Regions from separate parts of the Homo sapiens genome. Here regions 1, 3, 4, 5, 6 and 7 are each linked to region 2. The links are contacts of gene promoters, found by promoter capture Hi-C in blood cells and fetal thymus (Javierre and others, 2016). All regions are on one chromosome and are shown on one strand. Each heading gives the region's core, a stretch centred on a gene start or on the middle of the fragment in contact. The rest is flanking DNA. Distances are from core to core; before and after follow the strand shown.

The links. Contacts are between HindIII fragments. The CHiCAGO score rates a contact against its expected background, and 5 or more counts as called.
Region 1: a contact is called between a fragment that was not itself captured here and the fragment with the promoter of KNOP1 in region 2, in 1 of 17 cell types (total CD8 T cells). The highest score is 6.6, in total CD8 T cells.
Region 3: a contact is called between a fragment that was not itself captured here and the fragment with the promoter of KNOP1 in region 2, in 1 of 17 cell types (fetal thymus). The highest score is 6.0, in fetal thymus.
Region 4: a fragment that was not itself captured here is called in contact with the fragment with the promoter of KNOP1 in region 2 in 3 of 17 cell types (activated CD4 T cells, naive CD4 T cells and total CD4 T cells); the score reaches 5.8 in activated CD4 T cells.
Region 5: a contact is called between a fragment that was not itself captured here and the fragment with the promoter of KNOP1 in region 2, in 3 of 17 cell types (total CD8 T cells, naive CD4 T cells and activated CD4 T cells). The highest score is 5.5, in total CD8 T cells.
Region 6: a fragment that was not itself captured here is called in contact with the fragment with the promoter of KNOP1 in region 2 in 3 of 17 cell types (endothelial precursors, naive CD4 T cells and total CD4 T cells); the score reaches 9.6 in endothelial precursors.
Region 7: a fragment that was not itself captured here is called in contact with the fragment with the promoter of KNOP1 in region 2 in 1 of 17 cell types (naive CD8 T cells); the score reaches 7.4 in naive CD8 T cells.

What each region holds. Positions count from the first base shown.
Region 1 is chr16:19,503,190-19,507,477 of GRCh38, reverse strand. GDE1 (glycerophosphodiester phosphodiesterase 1) reads left to right here. Exons shown (of 6, transcript NM_016641.4): 5 at 2,386-2,597; 6 at 3,861-4,288. The coding sequence ends at 4,008. Among named protein-coding and RNA genes, the nearest start is that of GDE1, 17 kb to the left of the region's middle. The HindIII fragment of the contact is 1,381 bases long and covers 1,326-2,706 here.
Region 2 is chr16:19,716,146-19,719,938 of GRCh38, reverse strand. It overlaps KNOP1 (lysine rich nucleolar protein 1), which reads left to right and starts at 1,712. Exons shown (of 5, transcript NM_001012991.3): 1 at 1,712-1,781. IQCK (IQ motif containing K) reads right to left here and starts at 1,668. Exons shown (of 9, transcript NM_153208.3): 1 at 1,452-1,668. The coding sequence starts at 1,632. RefSeq lists an enhancer at 1,459-1,788. The HindIII fragment of the contact is 12,693 bases long and covers 1-3,793 here.
Region 3 is chr16:19,538,418-19,542,242 of GRCh38, reverse strand. It overlaps CCP110 (centriolar coiled-coil protein 110), which reads right to left. Exons shown (of 14, transcript NM_001323572.2): 5 at 1,456-1,586; 6 at 179-356. Among named protein-coding and RNA genes, the nearest start is that of VPS35L, 15 kb to the left of the region's middle. The HindIII fragment of the contact is 798 bases long and covers 1,222-2,019 here.
Region 4 is chr16:19,890,417-19,894,606 of GRCh38, reverse strand. No RefSeq gene overlaps it. Among named protein-coding and RNA genes, the nearest start is that of GPRC5B, 7.7 kb to the right of the region's middle. The HindIII fragment of the contact is 1,524 bases long and covers 945-2,468 here.
Region 5 is chr16:19,586,659-19,590,645 of GRCh38, reverse strand. The region is part of intron 7 of VPS35L (VPS35 endosomal protein sorting factor like); the gene reads right to left. Among named protein-coding and RNA genes, the nearest start is that of VPS35L, 33 kb to the right of the region's middle. The HindIII fragment of the contact is 837 bases long and covers 1,032-1,868 here.
Region 6 is chr16:19,858,450-19,862,143 of GRCh38, reverse strand. It overlaps GPRC5B (G protein-coupled receptor class C group 5 member B), which reads left to right. Exons shown (of 4, transcript NM_016235.3): 3 at 171-307; 4 at 1,600-3,694. The coding sequence ends at 1,644. IQCK (IQ motif containing K) reads right to left here. Exons shown (of 9, transcript NM_153208.3): 9 at 3,677-3,694. Among named protein-coding and RNA genes, the nearest start is that of GPRC5B, 25 kb to the left of the region's middle. RefSeq lists enhancers at 1-323, 904-1,485, 2,759-3,694. The HindIII fragment of the contact is 6,338 bases long and covers 1-3,694 here.
Region 7 is chr16:19,571,166-19,574,958 of GRCh38, reverse strand. VPS35L (VPS35 endosomal protein sorting factor like) reads right to left here. Exons shown (of 31, transcript NM_020314.7): 4 at 1,718-1,840. Among named protein-coding and RNA genes, the nearest start is that of VPS35L, 17 kb to the right of the region's middle. The HindIII fragment of the contact is 6,290 bases long and covers 1-3,793 here.

The DNA.
Region 1 (4,288 bases), core at 767-3,266, 210 kb after region 2:
TTTTATGTTGTTTATAGGCTCACTCAGATTACTGTAGTAAAATTCTCACAACAGAAAAGAATTATGTAGCCCCTACTTCTCACCAACTAACAGCAGAACATACCTTCATAAAATAAATTCTTAATTATGGAGAATCTAAAACATGCATAAAATAAAGTAGTAGTGTACCCCCCCTTTAACTGTGATCCAGCTCATTTCACCCATAACCCCATTGATCCTCCCCAGTGTTATTTTGAAGCAAATCTTATTCCATCCATAAAATTGCATTAAGAATCTTTAAAAAGTGATGCCATTTTATTTATTTATTTATTTATTTATTTATTTATTTATTTATTTTAAAAGACGGGTTCTCCCTCAGTTTCCCAGGCTGGAGTGCAGTGGTGTGATCACAGCTCACTGCACTCTTGACCTTCCAGGCTCAAATGATCCTCCTGCCTCAGCCTTCCAAGTAGCTGGGACCACAGGCGCACGTCACCACGCCCAGCTAATTTTTTATTTTTATTTTTTGTAGAGACAGGGTCTCCCTGTATTACCCAGGCAGTTCTCCAACTCCTAAGCTCAAGCAATCCTTCCACCTCAGCCTCTCAAAGTGCTGGGATTACAGGCATGAGCCACAGTAACCAGCCTAGTGATGCCTTTTTAAAAACATAGCCACAATGCCATTGTCCCATCTAAAAATTATTAACAATAAATTATTCATATCATCAAATATCCAGTGTATAAATTTTGACTTGTCTCGGAAATGTCATAAATGGTTGTTTTTCATAAATTGCTCATTCGAATAGGACCCAAGTAAGATCGGCGTGTTACAATCGTAAATCTTTTTTTGTTTGTTTTTGAGACGGAGTCTTGCTCTGTCGCCCAGTGGTATGATCTCGGCTCATCGCAACCTCTGCCTCCCGGGTTCAAGCAATTCTCTTGCCTCAGCCTCCTGAGTAGCTGGGATTACAAGCACACACCACCATGCCTGGCTAATTTTTTTTGTATTTTAGTAGAGACGGGGTTTTGCCATGTTGGCCAGGCTGGTCTCGAGCTCCTGACCTCAGGTGATCTGCCTGCCTCGGCCTCCCAAAATGATTACAGGTGTGAGCCACTATGCCCTGCCGGCAACTGTAAATCTTAAAACTTGCAGGTTCTGTCTCTCTCTCTCTCTGTTTTTTTTGTTTGTTTGTTTTGGGGGGGGTCCTTGTTTTGTATTTACTGAAGAAACCGGATTATTGTTTTGTAGAGTTTACCCAAGTCCAAATTTTGCTGATTATGCCATGATATGGCTTAATATTTTTTTCTCTTTATTTTCTATAAACTGGTAGCGAGAGCTGGAAGCTTGCCTTGATGAGGTTAGGGTTGGTTATTCTTGGCAAGATAACTCTAGAGATGAGGGTGTTTTTCCGTCAGGAGGCACTTGACATCTGGTTGACTCCTGTTGTTTTTGGCTGCTATTGATGCTCATTGGCCAGATCTGTCCATTTTCTAGGGAGCTACAAAATGCTGATATTTTAATTCTATTACTTCTTGCATTAGCTGAAATAGATCTTTAAAAAGAAACTTTTCCTCCTCTACTATTTAGTTACCAAATAGGCAGAATAAATGCTTTATCTTTCCTTTTATTTACCAGTTTCCAGAATAACAAGCTGGTTCCGTAGCATTCTTTACCAGTGACCAACAGAGCATACATTGAAAATTTTTACAGTGAGGATAGAGCCTATCAATAGAAGCTGTCATGGAGTTGAATAGGGTCATGGGGCTTGCAGACATTTGGAACAGTGTTTCCCAAACTTCCTTGACCACAGAGTCCTTTAAAACGTATAAGACATTCCCCCAGAGGAGCACAAGAGCAGAGACTAAAGGAACTCCATCCACATCTCTCCATTTCTCTGTTGTCCTCTCCCATTCTCTCGTCACAATCCCTTCTCTCCCTTCCCACCTCACTTCCCCATCCCCCTCCTCACCCCTACAACTCTTCAGCCATTTGCTCTGGAAAGGGTCAAAACTAAACAGCCCATCTTGAACTGACCTTGGTTCCCTCCTCATTGAGTTCTAATTAATTATCTCTGGCCAGGATTTAAGTCAATAGCCAATTAAAAGTTTATTCTCATGACATTATTAAAATTTGATCCTGAAGTTTTAATTTTTCCATTTTAAAGATAGGATTGCAGTTTTTAAGGACTGGGAAAAAAAAGTTCTCATATGTGCTGCATATTAGTGCTTTACATTCTTCACATTATTTTCTCAAAGGGTTTATGATTGAGAACTTATTTAGTAGATACCGGGGCAGGGTACCAACCATGACCACCTCATCTGATTGAGCACATTGGCTAAATCTAAACTAATAAGTATTCAACTTTACATATGATCATTATTTTACTTCCCCAAATTCCTTTGCAGATGAGACAAACAGATCGGGATGTAATAACAGCATTAACTCACAGACCTTGGAGCCTAAGCCATACAGGAGATGGGAAACCACGCTATGATACTTTCTGGAAACATTTTATATTTGTTATGATGGACATTTTGCTCGATTGGAGCATGCATAATATCTTGTGGTACCTGTGTGGAATTTCAGCTTTCCTCATGCAAAAGGATTTTGTATCCCCGTAAGTTGGAAGGTTTTTTATTTTACCCAGACAGACATCCTGAATGCTCTTATTTGAAAGGAAGGATTAACAGAGTAGACAACCTGAATTGGTTCTGACCTGCAAAGCTTACCATACCTCTAAATTGGATTACCAATTTCGCTTCTTAGGTGGGAAGAGTTCAGGCATATTTCACTGTTTTCAGACCGAGTCGATCACATATTTTCGGTTTTTTAGTGTATTTTGAAGAAAAAAAATGAACCTGTGACACTATGCTGAGCAAGGGATTTTATTTCTGTGACTGGTTTTTTTGAAAGCCAACACAGGATCCTGGGCAGAACCACAGTGAAGACATCCTGTGGGCACCAGCCTCCCCACTACCGTCTTATGTTATAGGCACTCCCCCACCTCTCCCCATAAAATTTCCATTTCCTAACCTGCTAGCGATCTCGGAATCATTTCTTTGGCAATTCTGTATCTGTATATTTCAGCTAATTAGAGTTGTAGGTCTAGTATTATTTCAGACATACATGATTCAGTTCAATAAATATTTGGTAAGTGCCTATACTATTGCAAGGTTCCATGTTGAGAAGCTGAAGATGCAGTGGGTAAAGAATCAAAGCCATGATCTCTGCCCTCGTGACGTTTATAGCCAAGTGGGAGAGTGAGAGATGCTAATCAAATAAAAATCCAATCAATATAAAGTTAAAACTAAGATACAGGCTATGTCAGAGAAAACTGTGCATGGGCTATAATCTAATCTGGTCTGGGTTGTCAGAAACAGCATCCCCAAGGAAGTGACAGTTAAGCTAAGATCTGAAGGGTGAGTGGGAATTGGGAGGAATCCAGATCAGAGAGAAAAATACATGTAATGTGCTCTGGCAGGAAGGAACATGGTTCTTTCCAGGAAGTGAAAGAAAATTAATATTCTTTCAATTAATTTAAAATTAATCAGCACAGAAAAGAAAGGGGGAATGTGGTGTGAGATGAAGCCAAGGAGACAGGTCGGGGCCAGGTCAGGCACACCTTCAGTGGCTGTGCCAAGGACATTTGGGGGTGGCGATCATTAGTGAGCTACTGAAATGTTTTAAGCTGGGACAGTGTAGAGGAGGTTCATGGCATCCTGGGTTTTGGAACAGTCCCTCTGATCACAGTGCAGAGGCCAGTTAGGAGGCATTCTCTGGGCACCATTGGTATGCAGTGAACACCATACTTAGTGGCCATTATGGATTCCTGAGACAGCTGCTTATTATTCTAACAGGATTGGCTTTCCTCTTTCCCCAGGGCCTACTTGAAGAAGTGGTCAGCTAAAGGAATCCAGGTTGTTGGTTGGACTGTTAATACCTTTGATGAAAAGAGTTACTACGAATCCCATCTTGGTTCCAGCTATATCACTGACAGCATGGTAGAAGACTGCGAACCTCACTTCTAGACTTTCACGGTGGGACGAAACGGGTTCAGAAACTGCCAGGGGCCTCATACAGGGATATCAAAATACCCTTTGTGCTAGCCCAGGCCCTGGGGAATCAGGTGACTCACACAAATGCAATAGTTGGTCACTGCATTTTTACCTGAACCAAAGCTAAACCCGGTGTTGCCACCATGCACCATGGCATGCCAGAGTTCAACACTGTTGCTCTTGAAAATCTGGGTCTGAAAAAACGCACAAGAGCCCCTGCCCTGCCCTAGCTGAGGCACACAGGGAGACCCAG
Region 2 (3,793 bases), core at 463-2,962:
CACTTTGGGAGGCCGAGGCAGGTAGATCACCTGAGGTCAGGAGTTCAAGAGCAGCCTGGCCAAAATGGTGAAACCCCTTCTCTACAAAAATAAAAAAATTAGCCAGGAATGATGACGGGTGCCTGTAATCCCAGCTACTCAGGAGATTGAGGTGTGAGAATGCTTGAACCCGGGAGGCGGAGGTTGCAGTGAGCCCAGCCAGTGCCACTGCATTCCAGCCTGGGCGACAGAGCAACATGCCGTCTCAAAAAAAAAAAAAAAAAAAAAATTTGAGTCCAACAAGAAATTCAGTTACTCAATTGCACTAATCACATTTCAAATGCTAACTAACCACACTTTTTTTTTTTTGGGGATGGAGTCTCGCTCTGTCACCCAGGCTGGAGTGCAGTGGCGCAAACTCGGCTCACTGCAACGCCACCTCCCTGGTTCAAGCAATTCCCTTTCCTCAGCCTCCCAAGTAGCTGAGATTATAGGCGCACACCACCACGCCCAGATAATTTTTTTTTTGTATTTTCAGTAGAGACGGGGTTTCACCGCGCTGTTTCAGGCAGCTTAGGTAGTGATGGTGGCCACACGAATGAAAAATCTGAGTCCTTGACCTTGAGGAGCTTATGGTCTAGTGGAGGAAAAAGAAAACATCCCACCCAACATTATTCATTAAGAACTAGCGCTTACGTAGCTCCTTCTGTAAATCGAGCAGTTTGTGTTTTTTTTTCCCCAATAATCCTTTTGCCCTCCTAAAATCAGGCAGTTTGCTAAGCACTTTTTGTGACTATCTGGTTCCATCTTCTTAACACCATCGAAATAGGTGCCATTATTATGCCCACTTTGCAGACAGGGTCATAAGTTAAATAATTTGCCCAACCTAAGTAACAAATACTGAGTAGAGCCACAAAGGAAGATGTGCTCAACTCCGCCTGGGGAGGTTAAGGAAGGTTTGAAGCAAGAAGGGACTAAAACCCGTTTGTCCACACCATGGTTACTGAACGTGTGGGCCACCGACTACCTACGTTAGGATTACCTGGGGTGCTCTTTTAAAAAGTGCAGATTCCCTGCATCCCAATTTGAAGCTCTGTGGGCGGGGCCTGGGAACCTCCGTTTATAACAAGATCCCCACCCCGGCCCCCGCCCCAGCAATTCCTTTCGGTTCACTAACCGAGGTTTAAGAACCAATGGTCCACACCGCATGGTTCTCTTTATTCAGCTTTCCCTCGCCGTTCCCTTGCCTTTAACCTCACTACGGATCGCGATTGGAGTCCGCGCTGCGTAACCTCGGGCCAGCCTCTCCGAGCCTCAGTTTCCCCATGCGTAAAATGCGGAGCCCGGGCCCGCGGAGCCGCTGCCCGGCGGCCCCGCCCGTCAGCCGACAGGCGCACAGTGGGCGCTCCCCAAACGCGGCCCCCGTCCGGCCGCCCGGGTCCCGCCCCTCTCGGCCAGCCCAGGTTTCCTACCCTTGCAGATCTGCTCCCACAGATTCTTGCTTGACGGCTCGGTGACCTGCCACGACGAGACAGGCAGCTCGCGGGACGCGAGAGACACGGTGGGCACCGGCGTCCGGGTGAACGACGAGTCTGTAGAGCAGCTGGGCTTGAGGCGCACTATGTGGCTGGGGATTTGCCGCGGTGCCGCCATGGCCGCGGTTTCCACGGTAACCGCGTTCGCCGGAAGGCCGCGACCCGGAAGAAGCCGGAACCCGAGAGGGTGGGCCGGCGACTCGAAGTGGACTTCCGGGTCACGGCGGAGCTGGCTCTCACGTGGAGGCGGGGAAATTTCGCCCACCGGTGAGTGCCAGGGCGCGTTGCAGGCGGGCCGGCGCGGGGTGTGGAGATTGCACCAGAGGAAGTGCGCGGCGGGGAAGATGGGGAAATGCGGTCCACCCACATCCCTGAATCCGACCCCTCCAGTCGGTGTGCGCCCGCTCCGGCCTGAGGCCGCCGCCTCCAGAAAGTTTTCCCGCCTCAGAGCCGGCCCTGGGACCCCACGTAATCCCTCCCAGTCTGTTGATGCGGAGGCTTGGGCCCATGGGAGCCTTGGAGGTACGGATCTTACTTCCTGGCTCCCGCGCGTCCTGCTGGTGATCCTGCCGGGGGAGTGGGGTGTTGCTGCACAGGCTTTGGAGTCCTGTGGGCGGAATTCCAGTCTCCGTTTTCCACTTGCTGGCTTTGGAACCTAGGGCAAGTGAATTATTGTAGTCTCTGGAGCTTGCGAGGTCGGGTATTCACAAAGATCTTCACAAGGCTGTCCCTGGAATTTAAAAGCGGTTTTGGAGAAAGCGTTTGCGTTTGCAGGAGATGCACTGTAACGTTCTTTTCCTTTCTCCTTGAAAGAGTGAATGCATTTGGTCGCAGGGCTAAAGAGGAGGATGCTATACTTTTCTAAATGGCAAGAGATGGGGAGAGAAGGGGATTAAGAGTTGACCCGCAACCTCCCGGTGGATTCTTTGTTCTTACCAGATCTCTTGGCCACTCCCCTATTCTGAAGTCGTCTTGGCTCTCTTGACTGCTCCCCTATTCTGAAGTCGTCTTGGCTCTCTTGACTGCTCCCCTATTCTGAAGTCGTCTTGGCTCTCCTGACTACACTATTTCAAGGTTTGCACCTTCTTCTTTGCAAGCTCCTTTATCTCTGCCCACTTATTTAAATGCCAATACAATAGTCCCCCTCCCCCATTATCCGCGGGCAGTACGTTCCTAAACCCCCAGTGGATGCCTGAAACCACAGACAGTACCGAACCCTAAATATAACTGTTTTTTCTTGTGTATACTATCTATGAGAAAGTTTATAAATTAGGCACAGTAGGGCCGGGCGTGGTGGCTCATGCCTGTAATCCCAGCACTTTGGGAGGATGAGGCGGGCGGATCACCTGAGGCCAGTAGTTGGAGACCAGCCTGGCCAACATAGTAAAACCCCGTCCCTACTAAAAATACAAAAATTAGCCGGGCGTGGTGGTATGTGCCTGTAATCCCGGCTACTCGGGAGGCTGAGGCGTGAAAATTGCTTGAACCCGGGAGGTGGAGGTTGCAGTGAGCCGAGATGATGCCACTGCACTCCAGCCTGGGCAACAGAGCCAGACCTTGTCTCACAAAAAATTAGGTGCAGTAAACGATTACCAACAATCTAGCTAGTAATAAAATAGAACAATTACAACAGTATACTGTAATAAAAGTTGCATGCATGTGGTCTCCCTCTCAAGATAACTTCCTGTACTGTGCTCACCTATTTTGGGACCAGGGTTGACCAGGGGTAACGGAAACCTGGGATTAGGTGGCGAGCTACTGTATTTCTTGAAGTCTTGTCTCAGGCTTGTTCTGTTCAAGGCTTATCACCACCCATACATTCCTAACTTTATGTCGCCCGTGTCAGCACGGCCACCCAAACTCCTCATCCATATATATTCACCTGTCCAGTGAACATCTCCAAGTCATCTGTCCAATCAAGCCTGTTCTTCAGCCACTTGCCTTCAGTACCTTTGTCTCAGGGATTAATACCACCATCCTGCAGTTGTTCTTCAGAAATTTTCCTGACAACTGGTAGGACAGGTTCCACAACCTCCACCACCCTGACCTTAGCACTGTCCTTGCTTTTATCACCTGTATCATTGTATTACACCTTATTCCCTCCCACACCTACTTGCTTCTTGATGGGTGGTGTTTTATCTTGTTCATCTCTGTATCCCTAGCATGTGTGCATTCATTCAGTGAGTATGTATTGAGCACCTGCTATGTGCCAGGCACTGAGCAGGACACTGGAAATAAACCAGGAAACAGGGCAGACAGCAATGAATGAGTATAGTTAT
Region 3 (3,825 bases), core at 371-2,870, 180 kb after region 2:
TCTGCTCACAAGTCTTTGATCTCCTATCATGTCATTTTTCACTGGTTACTAAGCAGCTGGCAAAGAGGGTTGGACATGGAATCATTTGAAAACAGGAGATATAATCTTATAGTGTGCCAAATAAATATCTTACCGTAGGATCACTTTCCCAAATGTAAAAGGATTTTTAAATATTTACCAGAACTATTTGAATTTGAAGTATGGAGTGAGTCCGCTTGAGACAGCATTGTTTCCAGCAAACTAGAGTCACTTATTTTTCTCCATTCTAATTCCACTGCATTGTTAATGTCCAACTCAGAGGCTTCCGCTGTCATTGCCTTCTTCTCTTTTAACATTTTCTCCTGCTCTTCTATTTCCTATACATGAACAGTTTATTGTAACATGCTAAACCTTTTAATTATGTCCCAAAATGATATCATTTTAGGCTTAGCCAAAAGTACATGTAATTATCAGCAATTATTATTTATTTCAAGTTTTTCTTCCTCAAATTATCCTTCCTTCCTTCTCCCTTCCCTTCCCTTCCCTCCCTCCCTCTTTTCTTTTCTTTCCTTCCTTCCTTTCTCTCTCTCTCTCTCTCTCTCTCTCTCTCTCTCCTCTCTCTCTCTTTCTTGTTTCAAGAAACAGAATCTCGCTCTGTCCCCCAGGCTGGAGTGCAGTGGCACGATCTCGGTTCACTGCAATCTCCACCTTGCGGGTTCAAGTGATTCTCCTGCCTCAGTTTCCCAAGTAGCTGGGACTACAGGTCCATACACCACCATTTTGTATTTTTTAGTAGAGATGGGATTTCACTATATGTTGGCCAGGCTGGTCTCAAACTCCTGACCTCAGGTGATCCATCCACCTCGGCCTCCCAAAGTGCTGGGATTACAGGCGTGAGCCACCACGCCCAGGCTATAATTTAATATGTGATAATGTATAGTTAAATTATTAATTATAATAATATTATAACAAGTGTCGTTCTTTTTTTTTTTCTTTTTATAGAGACAGGGTCTCCCTCTGTTGCCCAGGCTGGAGTGCAGTGGCTAGACAAAGGCGAAATCATAGCTCACTGCAGCCTTGAATTTCTGGGCTCAAGCAATCCTCCCACCTCAGCCTCCTGCATAGCTGGGACTACAGGCTCATGATACCACGCCCAGCATGAGTGTCATTTTTATGATACAACTCCTGCAGAATGTGTACTTTAGCACCTATTTATAAAATACCTTTTTAAAATATTAAGCTTTAAATCAAGGATTCAATAAAATATTCTCGATAAATTATGCAATTACTTTTAGATAAGGATCTAAATATCAAAATTCATATTTTGACAAAAAATACCATTCACGTATCAAAATGACTCCCTTACCTTAAGATATATGGAGGCAAAAATTACACGTATTCTATACATGACCAAAATTCATAGGTATCCTTGGCTAAATTTCACTTACCAGTTGTATCTCCCTCCACATTCCTCACCTTTTGCAGTCTTTCTTGTTCCCTTTCCTGCTCAGCTATGAGTAGTGATAATTGCTGGGCGTGCTGTTCTTCTAGTCTCTTCCGCATTTCTTCAAAAGCTAACATCTTGCTTTTTAGTAACTCCTCGCTTTCTGAAAAGAAACATGTTTCCTCAATTTAGAAAATTCACAAGTCTAATGTCTGATATTTTATACCATCAATTTAAATTATCCTTCTGACAAGAGAGTATTCCTGGATCTGACATAATACAATCAAGATATAGCTGGGTCTCTACTTCGAACCACACTCCTTTTATTTCATGCTACTCAATAAAGTAAGACCTGTATTGCATCACCTTTACCCACTCATTCAACAGATCCCATCCTGATCTGAAATGACAGACCCAGGACTATATATTCAGACAAGATTCTCCTGACTCTACTTAACTTTCAGATGTGGTCCTCAACTGCATCCTACCATCATTTGTTTTTTTGACACTTGTCCTCCAGGATCTCTGGTAGTGTAGCTTGTAGTTTTGCCTTGTTTTGATTTTCAAAGAAAGTGTTTCCTTGATGGTATAAAGCTTTCTCAGCTTGAGGTTTCAAAAAGGACTGGACGTTAAAATTCCAGATATTTAGTTACTAACTAAGAGAAAACATTATGACAATACAAGCTTCCTAAATAGAATGTGGTAAGACATGTTGAAATGTACAAATACCAAGTATGGGCCAGGTGTGGTGGCTCACGTCTGTAATCCCAGTACTTTGGGAGGCCAAGGCAGGTGGATCACTTGAGGTCAGGAGTTCGAGACCAGCATGACCAACATGGTGAAACCGAATCTCTACTGAAAAAATACAAGCGCATGCCTGTAATCTCAGCTACTTGGGAGGCTGAAGCAGGAGAATCGCTTGAACCTGGGAGGCGGAGGTTGCAGTGAGCTGAGATCGCACCATTGCACTCCAGCCTGGGCAACAAGAGTGAAACTCCATCTCAAAAAAAAAAAAAAGAAATTTCCACTCTGTTGGTCTTATGTACTTCTGATATTCACTGAGGCAGCCTCTTGCCTTGCTATGCTATCTACTTGGAGGATCCAAGTTGGCTCCCCAGGTAACAGTGGTTGTTTTTATTAGAGCTCTTATAAAGTTGCACAGGATGGGCCAGGGCTGGTGGCTCAAACCTGTAATCCCAGCACTTTGGGAGGCCAAGGAGGGCTGATCACCTGAGCCTAGGAGTTCGAGACCAGCCTGGCCAACATGGTGAAACCCTGTCTCCACAAAAAATATAACAGCTGGGCGTGGTGGCGCATGCCTGTAAATCTCAGCTACTTGGAAGGCTGAGGCAGGAGAATCGCTTGAACCCAGGCCTACAGTGAACTGAGATCGCACCACAGCAATCTAGCCTGGGTGACGGAGCAAGACCCTGTCTCAAAAAAAAAAAATTAAAAAAAAAAAAAGTTGCACAGGTTTTAAGCAGTCTGACCCAACCCTGTATTTCCCATAAGCCCTAAGAGCTTAACTTACTTGATTTGTATGTCTTCTATATCAGTAATAAAGAATTATCAACAATGACAACAAAGTAAGGGGTAATGAAGGAGAAAAACGTGCTTTAATAAATTGCTGTTAATGGATACAACAGAAAAAACTGAAATAATAATTTTTATTAATTAAGAACCTTTATTATTATTATTTTTTTTTTTTGAGATGGAATCTGGCTCTGTCACCCAGGCTGGAGTGCAATGGTGCAATCTCGGCTCACTGCAACCTCCGCCTCCTGGGTTCATCCAATTCTCCTGCCTCAGCCTCCCAAGTAGCTGGGATTAAAGATGTGCACCACTACGCCCAGCTAATTTTTGTATTTTTAGTAGAGACGGGGTTTCGCCATGTTTGTCAGTTTGGTCTCGAACTCCTGACCTCAAGTGATCCACCCACCTCGGCCTCCCAAAGTGCTGGGATTACAGGCGTAAGCAACCGCGCCGGCCTAAAGAACCGTTCTTGAACCACCTACTCAGAGCCTTATTTCTGATACTTTGTCTAATAATTTGATGTTAAAGTGTTTACTGAAGGACCAATTACACGAAGCTCATACTACAAATGAAAAAGCAAACTGAAATAAACATTAGAAACTATAGTCCAAAAGAAAGACCTCATAGCAATACAGTGAATTAAAACTGTAAGTGATGTTTCAGGCAAGACTGTTTGGGGCTGGGTGCGGTGGCTCATGCCTGTAATTCCAGCACTTTGGGAGGCTGAGGCGGGTGGATCGCTTGAGGCCAGGAGCTTGAGAGCAGCCTGGCCAACATGGCAAAACCACATCTCTACTAAAAATATAAAAATTAGCTGGGCCAGGTGGTAAGCACCTGTAATCCCAGCTACTCTGGAGGCTGAGGCACGA
Region 4 (4,190 bases), core at 457-2,956, 170 kb before region 2:
AGTTCGAGACCAGCCTGGCCAATATGGTGACACCACATCTCTACTAAAAACACAAAAATTAGCCAAGCATAGTGGCATGCACCTGTAGTCCCAGCTACTCGGGAGGCTGAGGCAGAAGAATCACTTGAACCTGGGAGGCAGAGGTTGCAGTGAGCTGAGATTGCGCCACTGCACTCCAGCCTGGGTGACAACGCAAGACTCCATCTCAAAAAAAAACAAAAAAAGAACAGTGCCTGGCAAACTGTAAATGCTATATAACTGTTTGTTACTCTTTTGTACTCTTTTGGAGAGATGGTTCTAAATAATTGTTCCTTGAGTGGTGGTTTTCAATCTTCATGGTCTTGGGACACTTTCACACTCTTCAAACTGATAAATTGGTGGAAGACCCCCAAAGAGCTTCTGTTTAGGTATATGCCAATACTTTATATCCCGCTTCAGACAGAGTCAGTGCCCAGTAGAGATTAAGAGCTATTGTTCTTATTTAAAAGGACTTGGAGGCCAGGCATGGTGACTCACACCTGTAATCCCAGCACTTTAGGAGGCCAAGACCAGTGGATTGCTTGAGGTCAGAAGTTCAAGACCAACCTGGCCAACATGGTGAAACTCAGTCTGTACTAAAAATACAAAAAATTAGCCAGGTGTGGTGGTGCACACCTGTAATCCTAACTACTCAGGAGGCTGAGGCACAAGAATCACTTGAACCTGAGAGGAGGTGGAGTTTGCAGTGAGCTGAGATCACGCCACTGCCCTCCAGCCTGGGTGACCCAGTGAGAGTCCATCTCAAAAAACTAAATAAATAAATAAAATTAAAGGACTTGGAGGAGGTAATATTAGTAGGTAAGTACCGAGTAAATACCTACCAATATTCACCCTATTTCAAATTAAAGCCAAGGAAATTTAAAAATATTCATACAATAAACCTATTACATGTTAACATAAAAGCTTTTTTATGAAGAATAACTGTATTTTCTAAAGGAAAAAGCCATTAGTGTCAGGCCTCTGAGCCCAAGCTAATCCACTGTATCCCCTGCGACCTGCACCTATATGTCCAGATGGCCTGAAGCAAGTAAAGAATCACAAAAGAAGTGAAAATGGCCGGTTCCTGCCTTAACTGATGACATTCTACCATTGTGATTTGTTCCTGCCCCACCTTAACTGAGCGATTAACCTTGTGAAATTCCTTCTCCTGGCCACCTTGTGACCCCCGCCCCTGCCTGCCAAAGAACAACCCCCTTTGACTAATTTTCCTTTACCTACCCAAACCCTATAAAATGGCCCCACCCCTATCTCCCTTCACTGACTCTTTTCGGACTCAGCCCGCCTACACCCAGGTGATTAAAAAGTTTTACTGCTCACACAAAGCCTGTTTGGTGGTCTTTCACATGGACGTGCGTGAAAATTAGTGAGAAGCACAGCAATAGTTTACATTTTTGAGAACCTCCGAAATATCTGACTTAATAGAGGACAGCGGGACTGTCACGCCTGCTCCCGCCATCGGCCTGTTGCAACATCACATCTCCAAAAGCCACTGGGAAACTCCACTGTACACTCGTGAGAGAATGACGGTAAAAGCGGAAAATAAGGTCTTAGTGCTATTATGCAAACAGTTTTGATCCTGCAGACCTCCAGAGAGGTTCTCTGGACAACACTTCAAGAACCACTTGGTACATTGAGGAAAGAGAGTAGAAAGAAACAGGCATATTTTCATGTTTTCACCGCATTCGTACTCACCAAAGGAATAACGAGTAACTGGAGATCAGGTTTGCTTTCTTGATCCAAATCTCCTTCAAGCCCTTTTAAATTAAAACCACAACACCTGACCCCTCCCGGGCACTGGCTGAGTCCAGTTGGTTGCGTCTCACTCAGCTCTAACAGGTGGAGACTATTAAGAGCCCTTCATCTCACAGATGCAGAAACCAAGATGCAGAAAAACTAAGTGATTTCTCTAAGATGACATGGCCACCCGGAGATTCTATCCTCAGTGTTTCTGACATCTCCTCCCACCCTGTTTAGCAATGGTCTGAGCCTGCTTCAGCCTCCAGACCCAGTGATTCTCACTTAATTGAATTGGTCCAGGAGAGGACCCAGGCACCTAATTTTTTTTTTTTTTTTTTTTTTTTTGACTCAGGTGATTCTCATGAGCAGCCAGGACTGAGAAGAACTGGGCCAAGGTCTTGCCACTGAGAGTGAGGTCCTGGGTCTGACAGCCCAGCTGGGAGCTTTTGGGGGTACGAATCCTCTCCCACCCTCTGAACCAGAGTGTTCATGTGGACAAGAGCCTGGTGATTTGGAAGTACATCACAGTGTCATAAGGAAAAACTAAGAGAAAGTGAAGCTGATCAGAGGATTCCTGCCCGGGGGTAAAACAGCAGGATGGGGCAGTGGTTACAGCCTGGGCTCTGGGGCTGGCACATCCAGGCCCTGCCTCCACCCTTTCTCTTAAAGTGGATCCCACATCACTCTAAGCTTCATAACCGAGTAAAGATAAATGGTCCAACATTTCTTAAACCTCCACCAGGAAGTTCATAGACGCCTATAAATAAATAACCTAGAATTGCAACCATTCAAATCATTCTTTGTTTTACATAGGGGTAGAGGCTTGAGTTTGTCTTTGGGGGGGACAGACAGTTCCTTTGTTTTGGGGACACAGCAAGGGAACTTCTAGTAGTGAAATGACAAAGCAGAAACCTTTTTTTGTTGTTGTTGTTTTAGACCGAGTCTCACTCTGTTGCCGAGGCTGGAGCGCAGTGGCGTGATCTCGGCTCACTGCAACCTCTGCCTCTCAGGTTCAAGCGATTCTCCTGCCTCAGCCTCCATTGTAGCTGGGATTACAGGCATGTGACACCATGCCCAGCTAATTTTTTTGTATTTGTAGTAGAGACAGGGTTTCACCATGTTGGCCACGCTGGTCTCGAACTCCTGACCTCAGGCTATCTGCCCACCTCGGCCTCCCAAAGGGTAAAGCAGAAACCTTCTATGAAGATAGAGAGCTGCTTCTGTGACAGATTTGCGTCAGGAGAAAAGGAGGGGAGGGGAGAAGGGAAAGGGGCCACACACTTTCTATCTGGCCCTGGGATTGGGTTTGATCCCCCTGAGATAGTGGTGACTCAGAAGCTCAGAAGCTACCCTTACAGGTGGCTGGGTAGGGCAGTGGACATGTGTGCCACCAGCTCAAGCCCCTGCTCCTTCAACTCTCAGGAAGGTCACTTGGGGCAGACACTGAGGTTTCCTGCCTCAAGCACCTTTCCCTCACCCTCCTTCTTTACTGAGTCTCTTGGTGCCAAGAGCTCACTTCTCAGCCTCCTTTGTACTAGGGGAAGCGAGGTGATTCAGTTCTGACCAAGGAAATATAAGGGTAATTCTGCACCTGGGGTGAGAAGTAGGGCAGTTCTAGGAATGATTTTCTTTCTGATTAACAGGGAGACTCACAAGAAGAGCTCTCTTCCCTGGACAGCTTCTTTCCCATACTGGAGATTGTCAAGTGAAGATGTGATGTTTGGTGCCATGGCAGCTATCTTGTGACCATGAGGTCCCAAGCAGAGGACAGCTGATCAGAAGACTACTAGAAAGACACTGGGCCCCTGTTTACATTGTTGAGCAATGGACCAACTGTGAGATCACTCACATCCCGACTTATTGTTGTGTGATAACAAACATCCCTATTGTGTAGGCCGTAACAATTGTCCTGCTGCTTAAATGTTTCCTGACAGCTTTGGGGGCTTTGGGAGAGTGTCCCCATGGCAGCCTTGCAGGGGACCAATGGGGCCATGATGAGGCTACTCCAAGCAATCTTGCGTACTCACAGACAAGAACCTGTAGGAAGAGAGGGTGGCAGTCACATTTTGACTGCAACTGACACACTGGTTTGTGGATGTCTATGGGGACACCCCATTGGGGACTCCCAGAAACAACTGAAGAGCACTTTGCCACTGTGAATGAATTTTCTTTTCTTTTTTCTTTTCTTTTCTTTTCTTTCTTTCTTTCTTTCTTTTTTTTTTTTTTTTTTTTTGACAAGGTCTTGCTCTGTCACTCAGGCTGGAATGCAGTGGTGTGATCACAGCTCACTGCAGCCTCAACCTCCTAGACTCAAACAACCCTCCCACCTCAGCCTCCAGAGTAGCTGGGACTACAGGCACATGCTACCACACCTGGTTACAAATTTTTTGTAGAGATGGGAGTTTTGCTCTGTT
Region 5 (3,987 bases), core at 201-2,700, 130 kb after region 2:
TTGAGTACTCGTCTGCTATTTAGCGTTCAGGACTTTTAATGGAAGACCGCAGTCACACAATGTGGCCCCAAACACCTTTGATTATCTTTTATCATCAGAAACAGAAAAGCTCTTTCTACTTTGAAGAACTAAATTTAATGCCATGCCCTGAAGACTTTACAAATTCAAAAGTCAGCATAAGGAATTAAATAACTGCCACACTTCATCACCTCAATGGTTGACCCTCAGAAAGAAAAATGTCATTTAAAAATTAAAAAAAAGATGTTCAGACATTTAGAAAGGATTATTTAATATGCAATTCCAATATGCAGAGAATGGTGAGAACGTTCACCATGTCAAGAGATAGGTTGACATGTGTTTTCAGTTTGGTGTTGTTACCCAACATCTAAATTGTTAGAGTCACCAAGTTTCTCCATAGCATTACAGGCCTAAAAGTAAACAACGTGTCTGATTTGCGAAACATCCCCTTACAGCCCAAATGTTATTTGTGGGGGGGGGGGGGGGGGCGGGGCGGGAATGTAAGCTGTAAAAACAATAGTGCTGACACCAAACGTGGCAACTGGATGTATGTGGAATTCCATTTCCTGACACCTCGCTCTGCGATTTTCATATGCCCTTTGTGAGAGTTCCAACTTAAACAGCTGCCCCCATGAGATTTCAAGGCTGGAAAAAGCTAACAACTCCAAATCTCAGAGACTGTTTACAATACACAGTTCTCGGTTCCTAGGGATGTGACATCTCTGAGTTCTACCCAGAGCTGGGCTTGGACAGTCTCTCAGAGATGAGTTACTGCCCACTGGTGAGGTGAGAGAGAGAGAATTTAAACAGAGGATTTCAAATTAAACACAGCTGGGGCTTCCCAAACATCTGTGCATTGATTTTCTCCCAAGCTGGTTTCATAGAACATATATTTTATAAAGGACAACAGGAATAAGATTTTGTTTTTAATCCAAAGTTAAAGCTATAATGATCTTATAAATTGAAGTTACTTTTTAAATTACTGTTTTGAAGATGCCACAGTTTTTAAAGCTTTGGTGCCGCTTCCTAAACTTGTCTGATAAGAATCAGGTAACCCAGGTATGTGTTAACAATACAAATCCCAGCTGGGCATGGTGGCTCATGCCTGTAATCCCAGCACTTTGGGAGGCTGAGGCAGGAAGATCGCCTGGGCCCAGGAGTTTAAGACCAGCTTGGGCAATGTAGTGAGACCCCAGTTTCTACAAAAAATACAAAAATTATCCAGGCATGGTGGTGTGTGCCTGTAGCCCTAACTACTCAGGAGGCTGAGGTGGGAGAATCACTTGAGCGAGGGAAGCAGAAGTTGCAGTGAGCCGAGACCGCCCCACTGCACTCCAGTCTGGAAGACAGAGCAAGAATCTGTCTCAGAAAAAAGGTTAAAAAAATTTGAATAGCCACAACAAATGCATACATTCAAAGATGACCTGAGTAGGAAGGAAAGAAGTAGACCATTACTATCCAGAATACATCTTAAAAATTGCAAAACTCAGTACGAAAAACACAGATAACAAAATGGAAAAATGGGCAAAAGAAATCAGCAAAGGTCATTTTACAGAAAAGGAAACCCCAAAGGCCTATAAATATGTGAAAAGATGCTCATTTTTATTAGTAATCGAGGAACTGCAAATTAAAACCACAAGAAAATATGACTGGAAAAATTAAAATAGAAAATCTGCTCATACCAAATGGTGGTAGAATGTTGAATAGCACAGACTCTCACACGCCCACATACTACTACAAGCGTATGCTGGCACAGCTACTATGGAAAATAACTTAGCATTATCTGGAAAAGCTGAAGAGGCACAGAGCAGTTCTACTCTTAGGTATAGGCTCTTATCTAGAGAAAAGCTTTACATGGGCACCAGCAGACGTGACCAAACGTGCTCACAGTGACATTGTCCATGTAGTGAAAAAAGAACAGAGCCAGATGCTCATCAACAGATGGCAAAATTTATGCATCAGAAAATGATTTCATACTCAATGCAATACCTGTCAGAATCCCAGAAGGTTTTTTTTATTTTGTAAAAATTGACAAGCTGATCCTAAAATTCATACAGAAATGCAAAGGGCCCAGAACAGTGAAAATAATTTAAAAAAAGAAGAAGAAAAAAAAAGTTAAAAGACTTACACCACCCAGGCCAGGCGTGGTGGCTCATGCCTTAATCCCAGCACTTTGCGGGGGGCAAGGTGGGTGGATCACCTGAGGTCAGGAGTTTGAATTGAGACCAGCCTGGCCAACACGGTGAAACCCCATCTCTACTAAAAATACAAAAATCAGCCGGGCATGGTGGCAGATGCCCGTAATCCAAGCTACTCGGGAGGCTGAGGTGGGAGAATCGCTTGAATCTGGGAGGTGAAGGTTTCAGTGAGCCGAGCCAAGATGATGCCACTGCACTCCAGCCTGGACAACAGAGCAAGACTCTGTCTCAATAAATAAATACATACATACATACATACATACATACATACTTATATTACCCAGTTTCAAACTTGCTATAATGCCATAGTAATCAAAACAATGTGGAACTGGCCAGGCGCAGTGGCTCATGCCTTTAATCCCAGCACTTTGGGAGGCCGAGGTGGGTGGATCACTCGAGGTCAGGAGTTCGAGACCACCCTGGCCAACATGGTGAAACCCCACCTCTACTAAAAATACAAAAATTAGCTAGGTGTGGTGGTGCACACCTATAATCCCAGCTACTGGGGAGGCTGAGGTATGAAAATCGCTTGAACCTGAGAGGCAGAGGTTGCAGTGAGCAGAGATCACGCCACTGCACTCCAGCCTTGGTGACAGAGCAAGACTGTGTCTCAAAAAAAAAAAAAAAAAAAAGACAATGTGGAACTGGCATAAGGATTGACTTATGGATCAACAGAATGACAGTGAGAGTCCAGAAATAAACTCTTACATTTATGGTCGATTGATTTTTGTTTTTTTGTTTTTTAAGTAGTCTGAATTTGCCACCAGTGGTCAATTAATTTTTTTTTTTTTTTTTGAGACGGAGTTTCACTCTTGTTGCCCAGGCTGGAGTGCAATGGCACGATCTTGGCTCACCGCAACCTCCGCCTCCTGGGTTCAAGTGATTCTCCTGCCTCAACCTTGAGTATCAAGTAGCTGGGATTTCAGGCATGCACCACCACACACAGCTAATTCTGTATTTTTAGTAGAGACAGGGTTTCTCCATGTTGGTCAGGCTGGTCTTAAACTCCCGACCTCAGCTGATCCGCCCACCTCAGCCTCCCAAAGTGCTGGGATTACAGGCATGAGCCACCACGCCCAGCCTTGGTCAATTGATTTTTAACAAAAGTGCCAAGATCTCAGTAGAGAAAAACATAGTTAACATGGTTTGGCTCTGTGTTCCCACCCAAATCTCATGTCGAATTGTAATCCCCAGTGTTGGAGGAAAGGGCTGGTGGGAGGTAACTGAACCATGAGGGCAGACTTCCCCCTTGCTGTTCCTGTCAGACAGTTCTCATGAGATCTGGTTGTCTGAAAACCTGTGTCACCTCCCTGTTCTCTCTCTCTCTCTCTCTTTCTCTCTCCTGCTCTGCTATGGAAAGATGTACCTGCTTCCCCTTTGCCTTCTGCCACGATTTTAAGTTTCCTGAGGACTCCGCAGCCATGCTTCCTATACAGCCTGCAGAACTGTGAGTCAATTACACCTCTTTTCTTCATAAATTACCCAGTCTCAGGTAGTTCTTTATAGCAATGCAAGAATGGACTAATACAATAGTCTTTTCAACAAACGTTGCTGAGACAACTGTAGCTCCACATGCAAAAAAATTATTTAGATCCTTACCTTATAGGATATATAAAAAGTAATTCAAAATGAACCATTGACCTAAATGTAAGTGCTAAAATTATAACACTTCTAGAAGAAAACAAAAAAATCTTCATGACCTTGAGCTAGGCAAAGAGTTCTTAGATACAACTACAAAAGCATAAGCTAAAATGAGAAAATTGAGAATGGA
Region 6 (3,694 bases), core at 1,022-3,521, 140 kb before region 2:
GAACAAAGCCCCTTTGTGACTTTTGTTTTGAATCAGGCTTGTGACAAAGGGGAGGAGCCACTGGGTTGGGTGGATGGGGGTGCCCGGAGCGCGCTGTTGTTGCAGGGGAAGAAAACAAAATTGTGTCTTTTTTTTGGCAATGTTGTCTTGCCAATCCCTCCCTCCCCCAGCTCTCCGAACAGCAGGATTTCCCAACGGCAGCTTGGGAAAAAGACCCAGTGGCAGCTTGGGGAAAAGACCCAGCGCTCCGTTTAGAAGCAACGTGTATCAGCCAACTGAGATGGCCGTCGTGCTCAACGGTGGGACCGTAAGTATCAAGATGTGATGTGGGGGTAGGAAGCCTAGGAGTCTACGGTGTCGGGGAGCAGCTTCAACAGGGACATACTCCTCCATGGAGGCTGCCCATGTGGCCTGCAAGGACCGCCACAGCTCAAACGCATGCAATGCTTTTATTTTTCTTCTTTCCCTTTCTACCCCTTTTCTCCACACACAGAATACCCACCTCTATTTAGAAAACCATCTGTAGATTCGTTTGAAAGAGTTTGTAATCCTTGAGGCTGTTGGACCCAGTGAATTATTTGGCTTTCACTCTGTCCCTGGGAGGTGACTTTTGGAAAAAGCCCAGAATGATGGAGCGCCCCTAGCAGATTTTGCTGACATCCAGCCTAGTTTAAGGTCCCCGGTCACCCCTCTGTTGACTCCTCCCCAGCTGGGTACCAGGTTCTCCCATTCCCTAAGAGATGTCTTAAGAAATTGAAGCAGTTACTGTTTCTCTCCCTCAAACACAGAAGCAGGTTTACTACTATCTGATGCCAAACAGACCTTCAGCAGAATTGTCATTGTTTACGTTTGCCTCCTTGGAATGACACCATTTTGTTTCTCCAGCAATCCAAAGATGCACTCTCATCTCCACATTTAATTTCCAAACATAGCTACATGCTTCTTTCAGAAACAAGGTCTGAGCCAGTTTACATGTGTAAATTGGGTTTCCATTCTTTATATCATGTTCCAACTCCATAACTCAACCTGAGCATTCTTCTTTTTTTTTTTTTTTTTATGTAAATCAGGGATGGTCTTTGATCTCTAGAGGGAATTTAGGTTTTCCTGGCCTTTTGAATGGTATGCTAGGCATTGGTTTGCATTGGTTTGGAACAGGCTCAAAGACAGAATCACAGATTTGCATTCTTAAAACCCCCTGCCAACGACTGGGCTGTTTTATTGTCCCGAGCCAAGAAAAGCCTGATTCACAAGCATTCGGCCTGTGTGTTATAATAAATATGCTTAGAAAAGCCCCCATCCGTCACTCTTAAGCCCTCCTGGTTCCTTCAAGGCCAGTGTGTGAAAAAATAGTCAAGACTGAAAGTGAATGAGTTGAACTTACATTCCTTACGGGTGGATGGTTATAGAAAAGGGAGCTGGGCTTCCCAAGAACCACAGCAGCATGACTCACAGTCATTGCTGCCTCTCCTGGGAATTATTCGACCCATCTAGGTAAAAGCAAGGTAACTTATTTTTGCCGCGTTGTTTACGCATCGGTTTCTAGTGTTGACTTTGCAAAGCACAGAGTTCTCAGTGTGTTATCCTTATGTGTTATTCCAGATCCCAACTGCTCCGCCAAGTCACACAGGAAGACACCTTTGGTGAAAGACTTTAAGTTCCAGAGAATCAGAATTTCTCTTACCGATTTGCCTCCCTGGCTGTGTCTTTCTTGAGGGAGAAATCGGTAACAGTTGCCGAACCAGGCCGCCTCACAGCCAGGAAATTTGGAAATCCTAGCCAAGGGGATTTCGTGTAAATGTGAACACTGACGAACTGAAAAGCTAACACCGACTGCCCGCCCCTCCCCTGCCACACACACAGACACGTAATACCAGACCAACCTCAATCCCCGCAAACTAAAGCAAAGCTAATTGCAAATAGTATTAGGCTCACTGGAAAATGTGGCTGGGAAGACTGTTTCATCCTCTGGGGGTAGAACAGAACCAAATTCACAGCTGGTGGGCCAGACTGGTGTTGGTTGGAGGTGGGGGGCTCCCACTCTTATCACCTCTCCCCAGCAAGTGCTGGACCCCAGGTAGCCTCTTGGAGATGACCGTTGCGTTGAGGACAAATGGGGACTTTGCCACCGGCTTGCCTGGTGGTTTGCACATTTCAGGGGGGTCAGGAGAGTTAAGGAGGTTGTGGGTGGGATTCCAAGGTGAGGCCCAACTGAATCGTGGGGTGAGCTTTATAGCCAGTAGAGGTGGAGGGACCCTGGCATGTGCCAAAGAAGAGGCCCTCTGGGTGATGAAGTGACCATCACATTTGGAAAGTGATCAACCACTGTTCCTTCTATGGGGCTCTTGCTCTAGTGTCTATGGTGAGAACACAGGCCCCGCCCCTTCCCTTGTAGAGCCATAGAAATATTCTGGCTTGGGGCAGCAGTCCCTTCTTCCCTTGATCATCTCGCCCTGTTCCTACACTTACGGGTGTATCTCCAAATCCTCTCCCAATTTTATTCCCTTATTCATTTCAAGAGCTCCAATGGGGTCTCCAGCTGAAAGCCCCTCCGGGAGGCAGGTTGGAAGGCAGGCACCACGGCAGGTTTTCCGCGATGATGTCACCTAGCAGGGCTTCAGGGGTTCCCACTAGGATGCAGAGATGACCTCTCGCTGCCTCACAAGCAGTGACACCTCGGGTCCTTTCCGTTGCTATGGTGAAAATTCCTGGATGGAATGGATCACATGAGGGTTTCTTGTTGCTTTTGGAGGGTGTGGGGGATATTTTGTTTTGGTTTTTCTGCAGGTTCCATGAAAACAGCCCTTTTCCAAGCCCATTGTTTCTGTCATGGTTTCCATCTGTCCTGAGCAAGTCATTCCTTTGTTATTTAGCATTTCGAACATCTCGGCCATTCAAAGCCCCCATGTTCTCTGCACTGTTTGGCCAGCATAACCTCTAGCATCGATTCAAAGCAGAGTTTTAACCTGACGGCATGGAATGTATAAATGAGGGTGGGTCCTTCTGCAGATACTCTAATCACTACATTGCTTTTTCTATAAAACTACCCATAAGCCTTTAACCTTTAAAGAAAAATGAAAAAGGTTAGTGTTTGGGGGCCGGGGGAGGACTGACCGCTTCATAAGCCAGTACGTCTGAGCTGAGTATGTTTCAATAAACCTTTTGATATTTCTCAAGGCCCTAGTCTCTGCTGTCTCCCCTCCCCACCCCATCCTTGCAAAGCACTGGGGAAAGTAAGGCCAATCTGGCCCTCCCTGTGTGACCCGCCTTCGAGTTTTCCTTAACAGTTAGTACATTTCCTTGTGTTACCACGCATGGGGAAGAAAACGCATGGCCCCAGAATGCCACCCCCACCTGACCTCCCCGGAAGCACCCCGCCTCTGCCCAGAGCATGTGCTTGCTTCTAGAGAATCCCGTTCCAGTCATTGCGTGGACAGAAAACGTAAGAGTCCTGGGGAGGGGTGGGAGGGAATGAAGCTAGGACCTGGGGTGGGGGTGGGGGCGGTTGCATGCGGACCCGGTATTCTGAAAAGAAAGAAATCTTCAAACACCTCGGTCCTGTCCGGTGAAAAAACGACAGCATTACACATTCTCGTGCCAGGAAATGGTTACTCACCCCCGCTCTCTGGAGTCCTTTGGAGCTTTCTGATACCATTCACACGATGGAGCAATTCACACGTTCGTTTTCTAAGTTCTT
Region 7 (3,793 bases), core at 634-3,133, 150 kb after region 2:
GATTCAAATTTCTACTCAAGTCAGGGTTCTCAAAGTCAGCAGACAAATACTAAAATTTTTGATATGACAGCGGAGTCACATAATAGAACTATTTTTAACCTACTCTGAATCAGGGTTTATCACCCTCTACACTACTGCCATTTGAGGCCAGATAACTTTTTGTGGGAGATTAATTCTGTGCACCGTTGGATGTTTAGCCCCATCTCTGGCCTCCACCCAATAAATGTCAGTACCACCCCCAGAACTGTGACAGTCAAAAATGTCTCTAGATATTGCCAAATGATGACCCAGGGGTAAAAATTACTCCTGGTTGAGAATCACTGCTCTAAGTTAACTCTGTACAGTTAAAAAAAAAAAAGACTCAATTTAAATAGTCCAGCAATTCTGCCTATCATTCTGTTCAATGAGTACACACCCTGGGAGGAAAAAATGAAGAGAAGAGGCGTTGAGGCCAAGCGTTCCCCATGGCCTGCCAAGTTCACTGTTTCCTCCAGGGCACAGCCCCATTTGTAGATGGACACGCTGCTACATTTCTCAGCCTCCCTGCATCTATGCGTGGCCCATGATCACACCTTCAAGACAAATGTAACTAAAAGTGTTGCGGGACCCCAAGAAGTCTTCCTAAATGGGAGGGGGCGCATCTTTCTTTCCCTTTCCTCCCTCTGTCTACCAACATGAATGTGAGGCAACACTCAACACAGCCGAGGAGCAAGAAAGAATGCGGCGGAACCCTGATGCCCTCGGAGCTGCCAAACCAGCCCTGGACTCCTCTCCTCGAGACTTTTCTCCAGCGTAAGGAGGGATACAGGTCACTCTTGTTTACAATGTTAGCAGGGGCTTTAGTTCTAAGCAACTGAACCCAGTCCTAACTCACACAGGCATTAACCTGACTGGGTTGGTCTCAGCTCTCCTGAGTCTTTCCTTCCACAGCAATTTGCCAAGTGAAGGGTAAGCCTCGAATTTCGTAAGTGTCTTGAGGCCAAAGCCAACTACTTCACCTAATGGCCATCCAGAGAAATAGTAAATTTCCAGCTCCAGGGGAAAACCCAGCTATATGGGACTTACTGAGTGACACCTTTCTCCTCCAGTGTTGTGCTCTCCTCCCTTAATTCATTTTTTAAATTAATTAATTAATTAATTTTTTTTGAGATAGGGTCTCACTCTGTCACCAAGGCTGGAGTGCAGTGGCGTGATCTCTGCGCAATGTAACCTCCACTTCCCGGGTTCAAGCAATTCTCATGCCTCAACCTCCTGAGTAGCTAGGATTACAGGTGCCCGCCACCACGCCTGGCTAATTTTTTTAGTAGAGATGGGGTTTCACTATGTTGGCCAGGCTGGTCTCGAACTCCTGACCTCAAGTGATCTGCCCACCTTGGCCTCCCAAAGTGCTGGGATAACAGGCGTGAGCCACCGTGCCCGACCTCCTCCCTTCATAATTCAAACCTCCTCCCAAAGACAAGACTCTGCTGTTCTAATTCTTTCTCTGGCCTGTGCCACATCCCTGATCCTTAACATTTTTTTTTGGGAAACCTGTCAGCACATTTTTCTGCCAACAACACTGACATACTACATGAAGCCTTATATGTGAGCTTTTAAGAGAAGTAGAAAAATAAATAAATAAGTGAAACTTACAGAGCCCAGGAGTTGAAGCAACATAACAAAAAGAAATTACTACTAACTCCAAAGTAGACTCTGGAGAGGGTCTCCTGGTACTCACAATAGACAGCTTTTCGGTAGTGGTGTACCGGGCAAGGATTTCTCCCCGTTTGTTGGTCCAAGGCTCAAAATCCGATCCTACAACGGAGTTATCATCTCTATCACGTTTCCTTCTGGAGCTGTCCTAAAGAAAGGCAAGATAATCTCTTCAGCAGCAATATCATTTTGATCTTTAAATATATACATATATAAATAGAAGCCAGATAGTCCTTTACTGTGGAATAAAAGAGATTTGTCTCAAGGTTTACTATCATAAAAAAAATTACAGCGCCAGGCATGGTGCCTCACGCCTGTAATCCCAGCACTTTGGGAGGCCAAGGTGGACGGATCACTTAAGGGCGGGGGTTTAACACCAGCCTAGCCAACATGGTAAAACCCCATCTCTACTAAAAATACAAAAATTAGCCAGGTGCATGCCTGTAGTCCCAGCTACTCAGGAGGCTGAGGCAGGACAATCGCTTGAACCTGGAAGGCAGAGGTTGCAGTAAGCCAAGATTGTACCACTGCACTCCAGTCTGAGTGACAGAGCAAGACTCCATCTCAAAAAAAAAATTCAGACCATTTCATCATAAATGGACAATAAACATATCAAAAAATGCTCAAACTCATTAAGAATTAAGGAAAGGATAGTTGGAAAAGACCACTTTTTCAACTATCAGAATGTCAAAGAGTTAAAATGCTGGCTGATGTCAGGCTGGCAAGGATGCAGGGAAACAGACCCTCTTCAACATCACTGGTGGAAATGCAGACTGGTTAACTCTTTTTGGAGGACAATTTGGTGATAGCCATCAAAACCTTAAATACACATTGCCTTATGCCAGCAAAGAGATGGAGTCTCGCTCTGTTGCCCAGGCTGGAGTGCAGTGACGTGATCTCTACTCACTGCAATCTCCGCATCCCAGGTTCAAGTGATTCTCCTGTCTCAGCCTCCCGAGTAGCTGGGATTACAGGTGCCCGCCACCACACCTGGCTAATTTTTGTATTTTTAGTAGAGATGGTGTTTCACCACGTTGGTCCGGCTGGTCTCGAATTCCTGACCTCATGATCCGCCCGCCTCAGCCTTCCAAAGTGCTGGGATTACAGGCGTGACCCACTGCGCCTGGCCAACCAGCAAAGAACTTCTAGGAAGCTATCCTGCAGAAATCCTTGCAGACATGCACCAAGATGTGTGTGTGTTCGAGACACATGCTGCACTGCTGTTTGTACCAGCAAAACCCAGAAACTATCTGGGATATCCTCCATCTGATGGATACATCAGTAGAGGAATGGTAAATTAAAATAGGTAAATCCAGTCTTTAGAATACCATACGGCTGGTCAAAATAATAAGGTTGTTCTAAATGTACTAACATGGATAGTTCTCCAAGACATATGGTCAAGTTAAAAAAAAAAAAAAAGTTGGCTGGGCGGCATGGCTCAAACTTGTAATCCCAGCACTTTGGGAGGCCAATGTGGGCAGATCACCTGAGGTTAGGAGTTCGAGACCAGCCTGGCCAATGTGACGAAACCTTGTCTCTACAAAAAATACAAAAATTAGCCAGGTGTGGTGGCACATGCCTGTAATCCCAGCTACTAGGTAGGCTGAGGCAGGAGAATCACTTGAACCCAGGAGACAGAGGTCACAGTGAGCCAAGATCGCGCCACTGCACTCCAGCCTGGGCAACAGAATGAGACTCCGTCTCAAAAAAATAAAATAAAATAAAATAAAATAAATTAAAAAAAAAAGTTGTGGGGTGCAGTGGCTCAGGCCTGTAATCCCAGCAACTCTGGTAGGCCAAGGCAGGAGGATTGCTTGTGCCCAGGAGTTTGAGACCAGCTTTGGCAACACAGTGAGACCCCAACTCTACCAAAAAATCCAAAATTAGCTGAGTGCGGTGGCACACACCTGAAGTCCCAGCTGCTCGAGAGGCTGAGGCAGGGGGATTGTTCGAGCCCAGGACTTTAAGGCTGCAGCGAGCTATGATCATGCCACTGCAGTCCAGCCTAGGCAAAAGAGCAAGACTATCTCCAAAAAAACAAGTCACAAAACAGCAGTTCCATTTATGTAACAATGGTAAATAATATATGAAACACAGGCCG